Linked DNA regions of Homo sapiens: region 1 is linked to region 2. Evidence: promoter capture Hi-C in human tissues and cell types (Jung and others, 2019). All regions are on one chromosome and are shown on one strand. The core of a region is centred on a gene start or on the middle of the fragment in contact, and the rest is flanking DNA. Distances in the headings are between cores, read along the strand shown. Region 1 has its middle 25 kb from the start of CCR9. Region 2 holds the start of CCR5 (C-C motif chemokine receptor 5).

Region 1 (3,679 bases), core at 1,053-3,552, 460 kb before region 2:
CACCACTCAACAAAGGAACCGAAGGAGGGACGGAGTCCCCTGGGGATAGAGCAGCAAGCTCGGAAAGGCCTCACGCCGTGGGTGGCACTTTCTCAGGGGGGTAATCTCCAGGTGGCTCAGAATGCTCTACAGAGGCTGATAAAGGCCGCAGTGAGCTCCAGGGTTTCTCTTGTTCAACTTTTGGAAACCAGGAAGTTTCTAAGGACCACAGGAAAACTGATGTTGCCTGAGACAAGGTGGGACCATCACCCCTAATTCTCACAGGTGGCTCTGAGACAGGAAAGTGATCAGCAGAGTTAAGTGGCTAAAAGAAGAGCCATTGGTGATTGGAGGGTTATGAGTGAGAGGGAAGTCAGAGAGGAGAGGAAGGTAGGGGCACTGTTCAGGCGCAGATGATGAATTTTGATTTATTCCACTTCAGGAAGATTTTTAAGTGGGGTGTGGCATGATCCAATTCATGTTTTAAAGATCTCTAAAGCCCCCAGGAGAAGAAGGGTGGTGGCTGGGGGTTAGGGGTGGTGCAAGGAAGCAGGGATGCCAGTCAGGAGCTGTTGCAGTTGTTCAGGAAAAAGATGGTGGTGGCGGAGTTGGAGTGACGGTGGTGGTTGTGGTGTAGAGAGATGGATGGCTTTTGACTTACTCTGGGGGTAGACACAATGGTGAAGATTAGAATTGAAAGAAAGGAAGGCATCAAGGATGACTTGGGTTTTGAATCTGCACGTTTGGGTGGTTGGTGGTGCTGCCCCTGGGAGGGGAGGATCAGCAGAGAGCAAGTCTGGGGATGCTACCCGGAAGATGGTAGCCATGAGCATGGGAAGAGCTGAGGTCAAGAGAGAGTGGAGGCTGGCAGCGACCTGGCTAGGAGCAGCTTCCCAGGCATCAACAAGGCAGACTGTGATTGGCTGAGGAGCAAATCAATGGGAAGTGAGGATGTGGAAAGAGGATGTGTAGGTGAAACTTGTGTCAGGTTTGCTATGATAAAGTATCAGGAGTAATCCAATAAAACAACAAAAAAATGTAAATGGATCTCTTTTGGGTTCATTTGCAATTAAATGAAAGAAGTGATTCTAAGAACCTTGCTTGTATTCAATTCAGCTGTGTCCTGGTAACTGTTGCCACAAAATTTAGTGGTATAAAAACAATAACCATTTTATTTTATTCGCCATTTTGTGAGCCGGGAATTTGGAAGGGGCTCAGCAGGGCATATTTAGCTTGGGGTCTCTCATGTGGCTGCAGTTAGATATTGGCTGGGGCTGTGGCCACTGGAAAGCTTAACTGGAAAGCTTAACTACTGGCTTAGGGCCAGTAGTTGATGCTGGCTGCCATGCAGGGCCCCAGCACACGGCAGCTTCAGCAGGGAGGGCTCAAGGTACTCAGACCTTTTACATGGCAGCTGGCTTCCCCTGTGCAAGAGAACCAAGGGGAAGTTGCAGGTCCTTTTCTGACATGGCACCGGAAGCCACACAGTGTCCCTCTGCTCTTCCACTGGTCAGAGCAGCCAGAGGCCAGCCCGGAGTCAAGGGACTCGAGACTCCACCTCTTATTGGAAGGGTGTCAAATAACTCTAGGGCCATATTTTAAAATCACCAAAGGTGGCTACTCTGTAAATTAACTCATCTTTCAATGATCCCAATCACTCGGTCCCCCAACTTGACTAGCTGACTAATGCCCAGAAGTAATCAAAAGAGCCAAGAGAGTAAAAGGGATTGGACAAGGTGTGGATGTCTTTCTCAATGATAACAGCTATCACATTTTGAGGCACAGAGTAGCTAAGTGACTTGTCCCAAGCCAGAGGAAGTAGGTAGTGGCACTAGGAGTTGGATCCACGTCTTTCTGATTCTAGAACCCAATCTCTTAGAGGCTGTTGTACTTTCTCCCCAGTTGAAGTTCAAGCACTGATGTTCCAGTGGTCAGTTTGCACCATATGATCTGGATATAGCTCTTCTCACAAAGGCCCTGAGTCAGGAGGACAGGGGGCCCTAGCTGGGCCAGCCCCTAGGCAGGGGAAGAGGAACTCTGGCCATATTGTGGCTTCCTCCCAGGCCCTCCCCGCTCATGGCTTTATGCCGTTCAGCTTTGCTGGTAAGTAGGTCACCCCTTTGGTGAATGCAGAAAGACATCAACAACTGTGTAATGACTCCAGCATATAGGAATTGGGCATTTGGTTTTTTACTGGGAATTTGAGATGGCCGTAAGATGATGTGAATGTCTTTTTAGAAATTAGTTTTCGCATTTTAAAAGTTAAACTGGCACCTACTAAAAATACTTCAAACGACATAGAAAAGTATAAAGAGAAAAGTAAAAGCATCTTATTCCTGCCACCAACTCCAAAGCCCCACCAGCTCCATCTGCCAAGGCAGCCACTGCTGTGTCCAGCGTCTTTGTCAGGAAATGTCGCATGGGTGTGAATAGTGTTCGTCACATAGTCTCCCAGGGTGCCGTCATATACTGCTTCAATCCAACCCACTTTGAACAAATCCTTTCCTGTTTTTTGCTATCACAGACATTGTGGCCATGAAGATTGTTGCGTGTGTTTTTGCGTACTTGTATGAGTGTATCTGGAGGAGAAGGTGGGTGTTTTACTGAAGATGAAAATTGAGGTGGAAATATGTGCAAGAAGGGAAGATTATAGACTCTTTGGTAGAAATATTACAAAAATGGTCCCAATTCTCTACCCCTCACTGTCCCTGTGCCCTTTATAAAGTGACTTTGCAGTTCCTCCCATCCAGAGGAGTCCCTTTTCCCACACCTGGAATCTGGGCTGGCCTGTGACTTGCTCTGACCAACAGAACACTGTTGAAATGATGTGCCAGGTCTGAGACTGGGCTTTGCGAAGCTCGGGCACTTTTACTCACTCTCTTGGAAACCTGCTCAGTGGCCATCTGAATAAGCCCAGGCTATCCTGTTGGGGTCAGGGAGACCACATGGAGTACAGCCAAGTTGTCTGGCCAAGACCATCCTAGCCTAGCCAGCCTTTCTTTGACCAACTGACCACAGATGTAGGAGTCAACCCCAGCCACGATTAGCCAATGAGCAGCCAACCCTCAGACATGTGGGAGCACAGCCTCAATGCGTAGCTGACCACGGGCAGACAAGGGAGTGAGCCCACCAAGAGTCCAGAGCCCCCAGTCAACCTGCATATTCGTGAGCAAAATAAATCTTCAGTGATTTAAGCCACGGTTTTGAGGTTATCCAACTTCAAATAACGCAGAATAATGCAGCTTGGTCTGACAACAGGTAACTGATACAGCCTTTTGTATTAACAATCATAATAAAGGTCTGAAGGTCAAGGGCTGCCATAGCAAATCCTGGTTTATGGAAAAGCTTTTTATAAGTCATCAGATAATCTAAATTCAAGTAAAATGAGAATGGTTTAGAGAAAACCACTCCTACAGCTGTCTCAGCATAACGCAGTAGCAGTAATATGTTCTGTAAATGGTTCAGACTTACCATCTTCCCTGGGTCTTGGTTCCTCATCTGTAAAAGTGGGCTGACTTACAGCAAGAGCCTAGAAAATTATACAATTACACAAATTAAACAATGCTACTATTGTTACTATTAACAAACCAGTGCTGCAATGAGCTGATCTTTCTCTTGTTTTTCATGAGGACCTGCCACAACCTAAAGATCCTTAACTTTTTTTTTTTTTTGGCCTCATCCACACCTTTGACAATCTGAC
Region 2 (3,853 bases), core at 1,032-3,531:
GCCCCAGGTCTAGCACGTCATTTAACAGATGAGGAAATGGAAGCTTGGGCAGTGGAAGTATCTTGCCGAGGTCACACAGCAAGTCAGCAGCACAGCGTGTGTGACTCCGAGCCTGCTCCGCTAGCCCACATTGCCCTCTGGGGGTGAGTATGTCTTCACATCCTCCAATACCCTAATGACAGACAAACAGAACATGGCAAAGCCTCAGCTCTGCATGGTGAAAGTAAGAACCAGCAATTGCCACAAACAGAAATACAGTGTTGGTCCGGCAGCCTCCGGGGGTTCTGCACAAGTGGATTACCAGTGAATACAAGGCTATCTATCTTTCGAAAAACCAAAGTTGTATTTATGCTATCTATTTTCTATAAAATTTTATATTAATTTATTTGTTACCTATTTTTGAACTCTTTCAAAAGCACACTTTATATTTCCCTGCTTAAACAGTCCCCCGAGGGTGGGTGCCCAAAAGGCTCTACACTTGTTATCATTCCCTCTCCACCACAGGCATATTGAGTAAGTTTGTATTTGGGTTTTTTTAAAACCTCCACTCTACAGTTAAGAAAACTAAGGCACAGAGCTTCAATAATTTGGTCAGAGCCAAGTAGCAGTAATGAAGCTGGAGGTTAAACCCAGCAGCATGACTGCAGTTCTTAATCAATGCCTTTTGAATTGCACATATGGGATGAACTAGAACATTTTCTCGATGATTCGCTGTCCTTGTTATGATTATGTTACTGAGCTCTGTTGTAGCACAGACATATGTCCCTATATGGGGCGGGGGTGGGGGTGTCTTGATCGCTGGGCTATTTCTATACTGTTCTGGCTTTTCCCAAGCAGTCATTTCTTTCTATTCTCCAAGCACCAGCAATTAGCTTTACCTTTTCAGCTTCTAGTTTGCTGAAACTAATCTGCTATAGACAGAGACTCCGGTGAACCAATTTTATTAGGATTTGATCAAATAAACTCTCTCTGACAAAGGACTGCTGAAAGAGTAACTAAGAGTTTGATGTTTACTGAGTGCATAGTATGTGCTAGATGCTGGCCGTGGATGCCTCATAGAATCCTCCCAACAACTCATGAAATGACTACTGTCATTCAGCCCAATACCCAGACGAGAAAGCTGAGGGTAAGACAGGTTTCAAGCTTGGCAGTCTGACTACAGAGGCCACTGGCTTAGCCCCTGGGTTAGTCTGCCTCTGTAGGATTGGGGGCACGTAATTTTGCTGTTTGGGGTCTCATTTGCCTTCTTAGAGATCACAAGCCAAAGCTTTTTATTCTAGAGCCAAGGTCACGGAAGCCCAGAGGGCATCTTGTGGCTCGGGAGTAGCTCTCTGCTGTCTTCTCAGCTCTGCTGACAATACTTGAGATTTTCAGATGTCACCAACCGCCAAGAGAGCTTGATATGACTGTATATAGTATAGTCATAAAGAACCTGAACTTGACCATATACTTATGTCATGTGGAAAATTTCTCATAGCTTCAGATAGATTATATCTGGAGTGAAGAATCCTGCCACCTATGTATCTGGCATAGTGTGAGTCCTCATAAATGCTTACTGGTTTGAAGGGCAACAAAATAGTGAACAGAGTGAAAATCCCCACTAAGATCCTGGGTCCAGAAAAAGATGGGAAACCTGTTTAGCTCACCCGTGAGCCCATAGTTAAAACTCTTTAGACAACAGGTTGTTTCCGTTTACAGAGAACAATAATATTGGGTGGTGAGCATCTGTGTGGGGGTTGGGGTGGGATAGGGGATACGGGGAGAGTGGAGAAAAAGGGGACACAGGGTTAATGTGAAGTCCAGGATCCCCCTCTACATTTAAAGTTGGTTTAAGTTGGCTTTAATTAATAGCAACTCTTAAGATAATCAGAATTTTCTTAACCTTTTAGCCTTACTGTTGAAAAGCCCTGTGATCTTGTACAAATCATTTGCTTCTTGGATAGTAATTTCTTTTACTAAAATGTGGGCTTTTGACTAGATGAATGTAAATGTTCTTCTAGCTCTGATATCCTTTATTCTTTATATTTTCTAACAGATTCTGTGTAGTGGGATGAGCAGAGAACAAAAACAAAATAATCCAGTGAGAAAAGCCCGTAAATAAACCTTCAGACCAGAGATCTATTCTCTAGCTTATTTTAAGCTCAACTTAAAAAGAAGAACTGTTCTCTGATTCTTTTCGCCTTCAATACACTTAATGATTTAACTCCACCCTCCTTCAAAAGAAACAGCATTTCCTACTTTTATACTGTCTATATGATTGATTTGCACAGCTCATCTGGCCAGAAGAGCTGAGACATCCGTTCCCCTACAAGAAACTCTCCCCGGTAAGTAACCTCTCAGCTGCTTGGCCTGTTAGTTAGCTTCTGAGATGAGTAAAAGACTTTACAGGAAACCCATAGAAGACATTTGGCAAACACCAAGTGCTCATACAATTATCTTAAAATATAATCTTTAAGATAAGGAAAGGGTCACAGTTTGGAATGAGTTTCAGACGGTTATAACATCAAAGATACAAAACATGATTGTGAGTGAAAGACTTTAAAGGGAGCAATAGTATTTTAATAACTAACAATCCTTACCTCTCAAAAGAAAGATTTGCAGAGAGATGAGTCTTAGCTGAAATCTTGAAATCTTATCTTCTGCTAAGGAGAACTAAACCCTCTCCAGTGAGATGCCTTCTGAATATGTGCCCACAAGAAGTTGTGTCTAAGTCTGGTTCTCTTTTTTCTTTTTCCTCCAGACAAGAGGGAAGCCTAAAAATGGTCAAAATTAATATTAAATTACAAACGCCAAATAAAATTTTCCTCTAATATATCAGTTTCATGGCACAGTTAGTATATAATTCTTTATGGTTCAAAATTAAAAATGAGCTTTTCTAGGGGCTTCTCTCAGCTGCCTAGTCTAAGGTGCAGGGAGTTTGAGACTCACAGGGTTTAATAAGAGAAAATTCTCAGCTAGAGCAGCTGAACTTAAATAGACTAGGCAAGACAGCTGGTTATAAGACTAAACTACCCAGAATGCATGACATTCATCTGTGGTGGCAGACGAAACATTTTTTATTATATTATTTCTTGGGTATGTATGACAACTCTTAATTGTGGCAACTCAGAAACTACAAACACAAACTTCACAGAAAATGTGAGGATTTTACAATTGGCTGTTGTCATCTATGACCTTCCCTGGGACTTGGGCACCCGGCCATTTCACTCTGACTACATCATGTCACCAAACATCTGATGGTCTTGCCTTTTAATTCTCTTTTCGAGGACTGAGAGGGAGGGTAGCATGGTAGTTAAGAGTGCAGGCTTCCCGCATTCAAAATCGGTTGCTTACTAGCTGTGTGGCTTTGAGCAAGTTACTCACCCTCTCTGTGCTTCAAGGTCCTTGTCTGCAAAATGTGAAAAATATTTCCTGCCTCATAAGGTTGCCCTAAGGATTAAATGAATGAATGGGTATGATGCTTAGAACAGTGATTGGCATCCAGTATGTGCCCTCGAGGCCTCTTAATTATTACTGGCTTGCTCATAGTGCATGTTCTTTGTGGGCTAACTCTAGCGTCAATAAAAATGTTAAGACTGAGTTGCAGCCGGGCATGGTGGCTCATGCCTGTAATCCCAGCATTCTAGGAGGCTGAGGCAGGAGGATCGCTTGAGCCCAGGAGTTCGAGACCAGCCTGGGCAACATAGTGTGATCTTGTATCTATAAAAATAAACAAAATTAGCTTGGTGTGGTGGCGCCTGTAGTCCCCAGCCACTTGGAGGGGTGAGGTGAGAGGATTGCTTGAGCCCGGGATGGTCCAGGCTGCAGTGAGCCATGATCGTGCCACTGCACTCCAGCCTGGGCGACAGAGTGA

The links. Contacts are between HindIII fragments. The study calls those that stand out against the background at their distance.
Region 1: a contact is called between a fragment that was not itself captured here and the fragment with the promoter of CCR5 in region 2, in 1 of the 25 tissues and cell types used here (pancreas).

What each region holds. Positions count from the first base shown.
Region 1 is chr3:45,909,670-45,913,348 of GRCh38, forward strand. It overlaps a transcript of LZTFL1 not described here. Among named protein-coding and RNA genes, the nearest start is that of CCR9, 25 kb to the left of the region's middle. The HindIII fragment of the contact is 4,074 bases long and covers 266-3,679 here.
Region 2 is chr3:46,368,665-46,372,517 of GRCh38, forward strand. CCR5 (C-C motif chemokine receptor 5) reads left to right here and starts at 2,282. Exons shown (of 2, transcript NM_001394783.1): 1 at 2,282-2,324. CCR5AS (CCR5 antisense RNA) reads right to left here. Exons shown (of 4, transcript NR_125406.2): 3 at 2,580-2,753. The HindIII fragment of the contact is 4,319 bases long and covers 594-3,853 here.